Regions from separate parts of the Homo sapiens genome. Here regions 2 and 3 are each linked to region 1. The links are contacts of gene promoters, found by promoter capture Hi-C in human tissues and cell types (Jung and others, 2019). All regions are on one chromosome and are shown on one strand. Each heading gives the region's core, a stretch centred on a gene start or on the middle of the fragment in contact. The rest is flanking DNA. Distances are from core to core; before and after follow the strand shown.

Region 1 (3,648 bases), core at 1,096-3,595:
CCTGGGTTGACCGGTCTTTCCATCTCACCGCCTCTTCCCCAGGTGGGCAGACCCAGCAACATAGGGCAGGCCCAGCCCATCATAGACCAGTTGGCTGAGGAGGCACGGGCCTTCAACCGCATCTACGTGGCCTCTGTGCACCAGGACCTCTCAGACGATGACATCAAGAGCGTGTTTGAGGCCTTTGGCAAGATCAAGTCCTGCACACTGGCCCGGGACCCCACAACTGGCAAGCACAAGGGCTACGGCTTCATTGGTGAGCTGGGGTGGCTGAGGCGGGATGGGGGCCACCTGAGGCTGGGGCTGGCCCTGCTCACTGCTGCTCCTGCCCACAGAGTACGAGAAGGCCCAGTCGTCCCAAGATGCTGTGTCTTCCATGAACCTCTTTGACCTGGGTGGCCAGTACTTGCGGGTGGGCAAGGCTGTCACACCGCCCATGCCCCTACTCACACCAGCCACGCCTGGAGGCCTCCCACCTGCCGCTGCTGTGGCAGCTGCTGCAGCCACTGCCAAGATCACAGCTCAGGTGAGGGCCCACACAGCTGTCGGCTTGAGGGTGGGCGGGCTGGCCCCTGATTCCTTGGAGACTGATTCAAGGTGGTCTTGAGTAGCCAGACCAGGGACTGAGCACGGTGACCTTTTGGGTTGCAGGAAGCAGTGGCCGGAGCAGCGGTGCTGGGTACCCTGGGCACACCTGGACTGGTGTCCCCAGCACTGACCCTGGCCCAGCCCCTGGGCACTTTGCCCCAGGCTGTCATGGCTGCCCAGGCACCTGGAGTCATCACAGGTGAGTCTTAAGTGGTACCAGATCCTCTCCTCTCCTGTCCTGGCATCTCTCGGCTCGCTGCCCTCAGCTGCCTGGCCCTGGTGGTCTGGGCACAACCCTCTGAGCCCAGGGCAGGCCAGCTCTGTGCCTTTCTGGGAAGGGGGGTGGTAGGGAGTGACTGATGGACCTGGTTGGTTTTCCTGCAGGTGTGACCCCAGCCCGTCCTCCTATCCCGGTCACCATCCCCTCGGTGGGAGTGGTGAACCCCATCCTGGCCAGCCCTCCAACGCTGGGTCTCCTGGAGCCCAAGAAGGAGAAGGAAGAAGAGGAGCTGTTTCCCGAGTCAGAGCGGCCAGAGATGCTGAGCGAGCAGGAGCACATGAGCATCTCGGGCAGTAGCGCCCGACACATGGTGATGCAGAAGCTGCTCCGCAAGCAGGAGGTAGGCAGAGGGGCAGGGTGGTGGCGGGGGAGAGGGTAGGGGGGCGGGGCCGCAGTGCTCAGCTGTCTTCCCCTCGGCCCTGCCCCACAGTCTACAGTGATGGTTCTGCGCAACATGGTGGACCCCAAGGACATCGATGATGACCTGGAAGGGGAGGTGACAGAGGAGTGTGGCAAGTTCGGGGCCGTGAACCGCGTCATCATCTACCAAGAGAAACAAGGCGAGGAGGAGGATGCAGAAATCATTGTCAAGATCTTTGTGGAGTTTTCCATAGCCTCTGAGACTCATAAGGCCATCCAGGCCCTCAATGGCCGCTGGTTTGCTGGCCGCAAGGTGGTGGCTGAAGTGTACGACCAGGAGCGTTTTGATAACAGTGACCTCTCTGCGTGACAGTGGTCCCTCTCCCCGGACTTGCACTTGTTCCTTGTTTCCTCTGGGTTTTATAGTGATACAGTGGTGTCCCCGGGGCCAGGCGCGCTCTGCCCAGCCCAGCCTACAGTGCGGATAAAGGTGCGGATGCTGCTGGCCCTGAACGTCCGTGTGTCTGCCGTCGGTCCTGTCACCGATCCTGGGCGTGTGTCCTTAGGGGGTCTAGGGCGAGGAGGCAGGGTTGGGGGGGTCTCTGGACCTGCTTCCTGTTGGCAGGAGGGGCCTGCCGTGGGCGAGACCTGGGCAGGGGGTTGGCGCCCCGGGCCCCGTCCCGCGGGTGGCGGCGGCTGGGTGGGCGGGGCTGCCTGGGGCGCCAGGCTCTCGCGCGCGGGCTCGCAGCCGTCCCCGCAGGGTGGTGCTGAGAGAAGGCTGGGCACCGGGACACCGCGACCCGCTGGACAGCGCGCGCTGCCAGTGCTTTTGTGCCGCAGAGCCGGCCGTCCAAGGCGGGCGGGCGGGCATGGTCGCTTCCCGGGAGGAGGCTGTGCGTTAAGATTCGTGGCCAAATGCCGCGGGGCCAGGGGCCGGGCTGAAGACCGGAGGGCGGAGGGCGCCGCCTCTCGTGGATTGTAGCTCCCAATATCCCGCGCGCGGGGCGGGCCCGGCTTCCCGGCACGCTTTGCGCGGTGCCGCTACGGGTCCTCAGAGGCGGCGGCGCGCGGGGCCTTCTGGGGGCCGCAGTCCGGGCGTGCTAGGCGGCGAGGGCCGGACTCGGCTTCCCGACGGGCTGCGCGGCGGCCGGGTGGGTGTCGGCGGGGCAGTCCGGCGGGCAGCGGCGGTTCCGGTGCGGCACAGCGGGCGGACGAGCGGGCGGGACGAGCTGAGCAGGACCAAGCGGGATGCGGAGCCGCCGCCGCCGCCGCTCCCCGCGCTTCCTAAGAGTCTGAGACCCGCCGGGCCGCGCCCCCTGCCCAGGCCCGCAGTCCGAGCGTTCCGAGCGCGGGCCGGGCCCAGCGCCGGCCGCGGCCGCGTCCCCGTCCAGTCTCGGGCGGCCCGCCCCCTGCCTGCGCCCCCTCCCCATGCGCGGCGCCCATGCGGACTGAGCCCCGCCCCCCGGCCCCGAGCCCGCCGAGCGCCGCCGCCGGAGCCCGCGCCGCCCACCCGCACCATGCTCAAGTGCATCCCGCTGTGGCGCTGCAACCGGCACGTGGAGTCGGTGGACAAGCGGCACTGTTCGCTGCAGGCCGTGCCGGAGGAGATCTACCGCTACAGCCGCAGCCTGGAGGAGCTGCTGCTCGACGCCAACCAGCTGCGCGAGCTGCCCAAGGTGAGCGGCCGCCCGCACCTGCCGCCCAAAGGCGCGCCCCCAGCCCGTGATTCCTCCGGCGGCAGAATCTGCCCGGGCGAGTCACCGCAGCCTCCAGCCGGCCCTGCTGGTTTGCACTGGCCAGGTCCCCACCCCAGCCAGCCCCACCCTTCTCTTCCAGCCGCCCTGGCTGGCGCAGGTGGCAGCGGTCATCAGGTGCTTGCCTGGGGATAGCGATTGTCACCGAGCCTGGAGGCGGAGCCTCAGAGTGAAACCCGTGGGGATTCAGGGAGGTGGATGGGGTTAGGGTGGAACTTGGATTCAGGTGGCTGATGAGTACTAGCTTCTTGGGCCGCTCTGGAGGTGGGTCCAGACCTCCTCTCCTTTTTTGCTGGGTGCAGGGGTGAGTGGGGGAGCCCTCTTGATGTACTCTTTGCTCTCGGATCTGTTCGCTGTCCCCCTTTCTTTACCCTTGCTTCTCGTGGTCAGGTGCTCTCCTAAGGCTGCTACAAGAAAGGAGGCTGGAGAAAGCAGATTAAAAAGTATTTCTTTTCTGGAGATGGGGTGCTGGGTGATCAGTACCTAGGGGTTGGGTGTCCCAAAGAATGTGACCCTGTTCTGGCCGTGGCAGTGACAGCTCGGTCCTCTGTGGCCACCTGCAGGCCTCGCGCGTAGCACTGTGCCTGTGGTACTGTGTTATTGTGGGGAGCGTTTACTGAGTTCTTGCTGCAGAACCAGGCCAGGCTTGTTGTCAGGATGCAGTAG
Region 2 (3,848 bases), core at 1,284-3,783, 370 kb after region 1:
CGTCACAGCCATCAGAGGTGCTGCTGGCTGTGGGGTTAGGGCCTCACCCCCAGGAGAGAACTAAGCAGGGCTGGGTGCTGTGGTAGGGCAGGGGCCCCTCAGGCCCTGGGCTGAATCAGCACAGGTGGTGAGGGAGCTGCTGTGGTCAAGCCAGCTGGGCAAATCAGCCTGCTCTTGGCCAAGGAAGAGAGCGCCGTGGAGCCTGGCCCAGTCCCTGTGCCCTTCATGTCAGCTCCGCAAGCACAGGCCGGAAGAGTCTCCCTATGGACCATGCTCCCAGGGCCAGGCTGGCTTGGGGAAAAGGTGACCTGGTGCCTGGGAGATTCACCTGAGGCTCTCCACTGTCTTGGTGCTGATAGAAAAGGCAGACGACCAATTAGTTATCTGAAGACAGTTCTCCGGTTGCGGGCCCCAGTCCAGGCCCCAGAGGGCCCCCTGTGGGAAGCAGTGCCTCAGTGCATGGCCAGGCAGTGTGGACATTGGCTTAGCTGGAAACATGAGCCCACCCAGGCCACCTGGCCTGTCACGCTCGGCAGCTTGGACGGGCCTCTGTGCTTTCTGTGAAGGCTGTGTTCAACCTTTTTTTACTTTTTGACCATTAGAAGGATTAAAAGCTGTCTGATATTTTAAATTGGTATTTCTCTGATGTAAACTGAGGTGGAAAACCTTTTCCCATGTTTCTAAGGCCTTTGTGTCTTCGCTTCTGGAAAATCTTTTTGGTGATTTTTGGAATCTTTTTGGTGAGGGTGAGGGTGTTTTTCTTTTGGGTTGTTTGATTCTTACTGACTCAGAGGGAATTTATAAACATAAACAAACATAAAAATACATATAATGTCCTGGACTTTAATCTGTTAGTCACATGTCTTCTCTGTTTGTGGTTTATCTTTGCATTTCTTTGTGACGTGTTGAAAATCAGAAGTTCTTGATTTTAACGGACATAGTTTTATAGTTTTCTTTACATTTTGCACCCTTAGTGTCTTGAATAAGAAATTCTTCTCTACACCAGATTGTGCTCAGTTGCCTCTAAATATTTTGTTGTGTTTACCTTTCACATTGAGACTTTCATCCAGCTGGAGGTGATTTTCTTGTGTGGTGTGTGCGGTGAGGTCCAGTTTCATTTTGCCACAGCGCCTGGCCTCGAAAAGCCCATTGTTTCCAGCGGGTGTGCGGTGCAGCCCTCCCTCCTGTCGTGAGGTCTGCGTGGATGCGGGCTCTGCTTCTGGCTCTCTGTTTGTTCATTGGTCAGTTTGTCCCTGAGCCAAACCATGCTCTGAATTATTTGAGCTTCATAATAATAAAGCAAGTTCTTTCACCTTGTTCTTTTTTAGAACGAATTTCAGCTATTCTTGACCATTATTCTCCCAGAAATACATTTTAGATTTTTCTTGTCAGGTTAAAAAAAAGTTGGAATTTTGATTGGGATTGTCTTGAATCTGTAGCTCGGTTTGGTGGAATGGGCATCTGTCCCCAGAGCAGTGAGCTGCCAGCCTGTGGGGATGGCATCTGTATTTCTTCAGTTAGACCCTCCCTTTTAATGTCTTTTTTTTTTTTTAAGAGACAGAGACAGGGTGTCACTGTGTCACCCAGGCTGGAGTGCAGTGTTGTGATGATAGGTCACTGCAGCCTCCAACTCCTGGGCTCACGTAATCCTCCTGCCTCAGCCTCTCAAGCAGCAGGGATTATAGGCACATGCTATGACACCTGGCTAATTTTGTTTTTTTTTAATCTTTTGTAGAAACAGGGTCTTGCTGTGTTGCCCAGGCTGATTTCGAACTCCTGGTCTCAAGCAATCCTCCCACCCTCCCGCCCTGGCCTCCTACCTTTAATGTGTTTTAATAAGGTTCTTTATTATCTTTTTTTTTTTTTTTCTTAAGACAAAGTTTCACTGTTGTTGCCCAGGCTGGACTACAATGGTGCAGTCTGGGCTCACTGCAGCCTCCACCTCCCAGGTTCAAGCAATTCTCCTGCCTCAATCTCCTGAGTAGCTGGGATTACAGGCATGTGCCACTATGCCCAGCTAATTTTGTATTTTTAGTAGAGACAGGGTTTCTCCATTTTGGTCAGGCTGGTCTCCAACCACCGACTTAAGGTGATCCGCCTGCCTTGGCTTCCCAAAGTGTTGGGATTACAGGCATGAGCCACTGTGCCCAGCCCTTGATTAGGTTTTGTTAGATTTATTCCTAATAGTTTTATTACTATAAATAGTATATTTAAAATTTGTATTATCTCACTGTTCATTGGCGTATAGAAATATAATTTTATATAGATTTTATCTCCAGCAACTTTGCTGAACTATATTAGTAATTAGTTTATAAATTCTCTTGCATTTTTCTGTATAAACAATTATGTCATTTGCAAATAATGACTTTTTTTCTTCTTTTGAGTCCAGACAAGTTTTCTTTCTTTTTCTTGTCTTCCTGCCTTGGATAGGACCCCAATACAATATTGACTGGTGATGATAGTGGGCTTCCAAACTTTCCCCTTGACATGTGATGCTTTCTGGGAGTTATCTTTTACGAAACCCTGTATTTCAGGCTGAGGAAGTTACCTTCAATCACTAATTTGCTAAATGTTTCTTTTTAAAAAACTGTTGAATTTTATTAAATACTTATTTCATATCTGTGAGGTGATCATATGATTCTTCTCTTTTAACCTGTTAATGTGCTAATTTTTGTTCATTGATTTTCTAATATTAAACCAACCTTGCATTCCTGAGATAAATCTAACTTGGTCCTTGATATATTAGTGTTTTTACACATTGCAAGACTCTCGTTTATAATTTGTGTAGGACTTTTTGCATTCTTTTCATGAGTGATATTGGCCTAAATGTTTTTTTCTCATATAGTCCTGGTCAGATTTGGTTTCAAGATTATTCTGGCCCCATAAGCTGAGTAGTGTTCTGTGTTTTTCTATACAGTGGACTTGTTCATGGAAGACTGGAATTGTACATCTGGAGTATTTGGTAGAACCACAAGTAAAGGCCAGGTGCGGTGGCTCACACCTGTAATCCCAGCACTTTGGGAGGCTGAGGTGGGTGGATCACAAGGTCAGGAGAACAAGACCATCCTGGCTAACAAGGTGAAACCCCATCTCTACTAAAAATACAAAAAAGTAGCCAGGCATGGTGGCGGGCACCTGTAGTCCCAGCTACTCGGGAGGCTGAGGCAGGAGAATGGTGTGAACCCAGGAGGCAGAGGTTGCAGTGAGCCGAGATCGTGCCACTGCACTCCAGCCTGGGCAACAGAGCAAGACTCTGTCTCAGAAAAAAAAAAAAAAAAGGAAAAAAAGAACTACAAGTAAAACCCTTTGGGTTGGAGCTTTGCTTTTTAACTGCTGATTCCAATTTCTTCATGGTTATAGAAATACTTGGATTTATTTTTCTTGTCAGTTTTTCTAGAATTTGTCAATTCACTGGTGTTTTCAAACATACTGGCATGACGTTTGTTACCACAGCGTGCGGTGTCTTTCATCATCTGCAGCATCTTTAGTTACACGCTTAGCGTTCCCAACATTGTTTACATCTTCCTTCTCTTTATTTCCTGATTAACCCTATTGGATAAATTGATTACTGTTTTAAAAGAACCAACTTTTAACTCTCTTGGTTTTAATTCCTATTTTGTTTTTCTTTCCCTCTGCTTTGAGTTCATTTGCTGTTCTCCCCCTAACTTTTAAGCTAGGTCTTCTGTTGTGATATAAGCATTTAAGGCTATGTATTTTCCTTTAAGCCCTGTTTTCGCTGTTCCACAGATGGTGATACATTTCCAGATCTTTGGAGAGTTTTCTGGGGGTTTTGTTTGGCTGGTTTGGGTTTTTCATTAGTGAACATGAGATGAAGGTCTCAGGCCTTT
Region 3 (4,083 bases), core at 1,345-3,844, 420 kb after region 1:
CAGGCGACCTGCTCCAAGTTCTGGCCCTGCCAAAACTTATTCTGCAGCCCCCACGAGCTGGCCTGCCTGACCTCCTCTCCCTCCTCCCTAACTCCCCACACCATGCTGTTTCAAGCTTCCTCAGTCAGCCTAAAGAACTCCTATTCATTCTTCAAAACCCTCTGCAGTTGCCCCTTCCCAGGGAGAACTGTACTTCTCCCCTTTGGGTAGCTCCATCCTGGTACCTGTGCACCAAGGACTTGTCCCCGGGCGGCTCCCCTCACTCCTCCAGCCCATAGGGACGGAGGGCTTACAGAATAGACGGCTGGGGCCCAGGCTCCTACAGGGAAAGCAAAGACCCAGGTTCCCAGAGTGGGTAGTAAACCAGTCTCAAGTGTGTTTTTCTTTAAGTGCTTATCTGTTCAGATGAGCTCACATGGTGTGTGCATTATAAAACCCACCACCCAGAAACACACAAGCTTATTCAAGGATTTACCGCAGCCTGGACAACAGAGCGAGACCCTGTCTCTACAAAAGATAGAAATAAAGTAAAAAAATTAGGCTGGGTGCGGTGGCTCACACCTATAACCCCAGCATTTTGGGAGGCTGAGGCGGGCGGATCACTTGAGGTCAGGAGTTAGAGACCAGCCCGGCCAACATGGTGAAACTCCATCTCTACTAAAAATACAAAATTAGCCAGGAGTGGTGGCACATGATCTCAGCTACTTGGGAGGCTGAGGCAGAAGAATCACTTAAACCTGGGAGGCAGAGGTTGCAGTGAGCCGAGATCTGCCTTTGCACTCCAGCCTGGGCGACGAGCAAAACTGCGTCTCAAAAAAAAAAAAGTTAAAAAAAATTTTTAAAATTAGCCAGGCACAGTGGCTCATGCCTGTAATCCCAGCACTTTAGGAGTCTGAGGCAGAAGGATCACTTGAGCCCAGGAGTTCAAGACCAGACTGGCCAACATAACCAGACCTTGTCTCAACAAAAAATAAAAAAAGCTAGCTGGGTGTGGTGGCATGCACCTGTGGTCCCAGATGCTTGGGAGGCTGAGGCGGGAGGATCACTTGAGTCCAGGAGGTAGAGGCTTCGGCGAGCCATGATTGTGCCACTGCACTCCAGCCTGGGTGACAGAGCGAGACCTTGCTAAAAAAAAAAAAAAAAAAAAGGCTTTCCCTGTTCAGGAGAACTCATGTGTCCATTACAAACACACACAAGGGAAACCCAAGCAGATGTGAACCCCAGCTCTCACACTTTGTCCCACTCCCTCATCTACTCTGGAGTTGCTGGGATCGCCACTGTCAGGAAATGAGGTCAGCTGTGCACACAGAGAGGAAGGGAACCCTGGCGGAGGGGACTCTGCAGGGGTGGGAGGCAGGGCCCCAGCCCAGAAGTGCTCACTGCTAGGATCCTGCTAGGGGAGGGGCCTGGATTTCTTCCCTTACTTGCAAGCCCCCCAGGGCCTTTCCCGGGGAAGCTGCCCCTGACCGGCTGCTCCACTGTCCTGGCCACAGCCTTCACCTGGGAGGAACAGACACTCTTTGCCCTGGATGGGCCTGGAGAGGCTGGGTGGCCCATGTCCACCCTCACCAGGGCAGCACCCGCTGGCTGCCATGCTTCGTGGGCCAGGCCTTGACCCCAGGTGGATTAATCTCTTCTCTGTCCCATCTGTGTCCCTGGCCTCTGTGCCTCATGTGAACTGCCCAGCCAGGGCTCCTAAGGGCAATAATGGAGGTGGCCGGGCAGGCCTGGTGAGGAGCTCTGAGCCCTCGTCCTGGGGACAGTGAGCCATGGGCCCTCTAACCGGGCAGGGCCACTGGGCCTCCCCGTGGACACCCCGTGATGGGGGCCCACCCGCCCCACAGCCCCCTGGCCCCACAGCCCCACACGCTCTGGGTCAGCCCTGCCTGTTAGCAATTCCACCTGAGAGTGATGTACCCAGGAGTTCCTGCAGGGGCCCGGCTGGCCCCATCTCAGAATCCTGTTGAGGGTCAGCGGCCCACATGTCTGTACTAAAGTCCCAGGAGTGAGGCTTGCGGGGCTGCCCTGCTGGGCCTAAGAACCCACTGGGGAGATGGGCTGAGCGTTGAAGCCATGTGCCACCAGCTGGCTGCCCGACCTGTCTCTCAGGACGGCGCCCTACTATGGCTCCAGGGCCAGGCCACTGTTCCTGCCCCAGCTCCCCAGGGGGCTGAGGACGGCACCAGGCCGGATGATCTGCTATTGATGAGGTGGGGGCGGCAGGGGGCAGGCCAGGTCTGGGTCAGCAGATCCGCTCCGGCATCAGATGTGCCCGGACATTGATCAGACAGATGAGGGCCTGGCTGGGCCTGGGGGTGGGGGTGTCCACCCAGCAGAGGCCACGGAGTGAGCACTGATCTGGAGAAGCACCTCCTCCCACCCCAACCCCCACCAGGCACTGCTCCATGGACCCAGAGGCCTGAGGGGACTCCAATGCTGCCCTAGGGCAGTGGACAGAGCTGAGGCCTGGCCCCCCCTGCTGTGAGTGGCACTCAGCCCTGCCCAGGATGGGCAGGGGGACCCAATCCCTGGCCCGTGAGCTCCACCTTGGCCCCAGGCCGAAGGGTGGGAGGCTCCGTGACCTCTGCACCCAGGGGCAGCTACAGCCCCTTCCCAGGTGCCTGCTGGCCCTGAGGGCCGGGCTTTACTGGCTGCCCAGCCCTGGGCATCCCAGATCCTCCCAGGTGTGAGAAGAGACAGCCCCAAGGGAGACCCTGAGGGGAGGGTCCCCAGCAACAGAGAGGGAGGAGGCCGCTCAGAGGCTGTGGGGCGGTGGGGAGAAGGCAGACACAGACCCAGAGAGAAGGAGGGAGCAGGGACCCCAGATACCCACATGAGACCTGCAGACAGACACACTGGGGAAGGATGAAGATTCCAGGACAAAGACAGAGACCAGCAGGAGGGGGTGTGTCCCACCGGCAGGGAGGGGCTGGGAAGTCAGGAATGTGGCTGCTTGTGACAAGGGCCCTATGCCAGCCCTGGGCACCCCTCAGAGGTCACCTTGGGGTGGCCCTGCCAGCCTGAGCAATTCATGGCTGGTGCATGTCATCCACCAGATCGACCATGGGAAGCAGGTGTGCTTGGTGGGCACTGGGAGCCTCTGGGACCCCGGAGCCAGGCAACCCAGAAAACCGCAGACAGGTCCTTGGGCCACCACACCCACCCCACCAATCCACCACTAATGAATTGGGATTTGATCCATGAGACAATAGTGGTGGCCAGGCTGGCTCCAGCAGGGCTGAGTGAGCTGAGTGCTGGAGCCCCGGAGACAGCTGCACACCGGCTGGGGTGCTGCAGATTGGGGGCTGGCGCTGCCCACCGCCCCTCATGCTTGTGCCCTTGGGCAAAGGCACTCCCTTCTGGGCTGTGGCTCCCCAACTCAACGCAGGTGGGAGCACCCTGAATATCCCCTCCTCCCAGCCCTGGTATTGTCCCTCCCTGGCTCTGGCTGCTAGGCTTTGTATGGGCTGCTGCCCATGCAGGCCCCAGGCCAAGCCAGTGAGGGTCGGGGCAGAAGGCCTGTGAGAGCCAGGACTGAGACACTCCTGGGCGGCCAGTTTGCAGTAGGGCAGGAATCCCAGGAGAACCTCAGGGACCCTTTGGTGAATGGATGGATGGATGGATGGATGGGTGGATGAGTGGATGGATGGGTGGATGAGTGGATGGATAGGTGGATGAATGGATGGGTGGGTGGATGGATGGATAGATGGTTGGATGATGGATGGATGGGTTGATGGATGGGTGGATGGACAGATGGACAAGTGGATGGATGGATGTGTGGATGGATGGATGGGTGGATGGGTGGATGAATGGGTGGGTGGATGGATGGGTGAGTTGATGGATGGGTGGGTGCATGGGCAGGTGGATGGATGGATAGATGGATGGTCGGATGGATGGGTGGATGGATGGATGGATTGATGGGTGGATGGACGGATGGGTGGATAGATGGATGGGTGGATGGGTAGATGGATGGATGAATGGGTGGGTGGATGGGTGGTGGATGGACGGATAGATGGATGGTTGGATGGATGGGTGGATGGATGGATGGATGGATTGATGGGTGGATGGATGGATGGATGGATG

What was found. The method cuts DNA at HindIII sites, captures the fragments that hold promoters and counts their contacts. A contact is called where the count stands out against the background at its distance.
Region 2: a contact is called between a fragment that was not itself captured here and the fragment with the promoter of SCRIB in region 1, in 1 of the 25 tissues and cell types used here (lymphoblastoid cells).
Region 3: a contact is called between a fragment that was not itself captured here and the fragment with the promoter of SCRIB in region 1, in 1 of the 25 tissues and cell types used here (lymphoblastoid cells).

What each region holds. Positions count from the first base shown.
Region 1 is chr8:143,814,470-143,818,117 of GRCh38, reverse strand. It overlaps SCRIB (scribble planar cell polarity protein), which reads left to right and starts at 2,345. Exons shown (of 37, transcript NM_182706.5): 1 at 2,345-2,904. The coding sequence starts at 2,746. It overlaps PUF60 (poly(U) binding splicing factor 60), which reads left to right. Exons shown (of 12, transcript NM_078480.3): 8 at 43-256; 9 at 336-526; 10 at 652-787; 11 at 973-1,208; 12 at 1,299-1,774. The coding sequence ends at 1,598. RefSeq lists enhancers at 1,753-2,385, 2,386-3,018, 3,303-3,648. The HindIII fragment of the contact is 41,605 bases long and covers 1-3,648 here.
Region 2 is chr8:143,443,405-143,447,252 of GRCh38, reverse strand. All of the region lies in intron 9 of ZC3H3 (zinc finger CCCH-type containing 3), which reads left to right. Among named protein-coding and RNA genes, the nearest start is that of MAFA, 15 kb to the right of the region's middle. The HindIII fragment of the contact is 7,185 bases long and covers 1-3,848 here.
Region 3 is chr8:143,392,027-143,396,109 of GRCh38, reverse strand. No RefSeq gene overlaps it. Among named protein-coding and RNA genes, the nearest start is that of MAFA-AS1, 14 kb to the left of the region's middle. The HindIII fragment of the contact is 4,614 bases long and covers 288-4,083 here.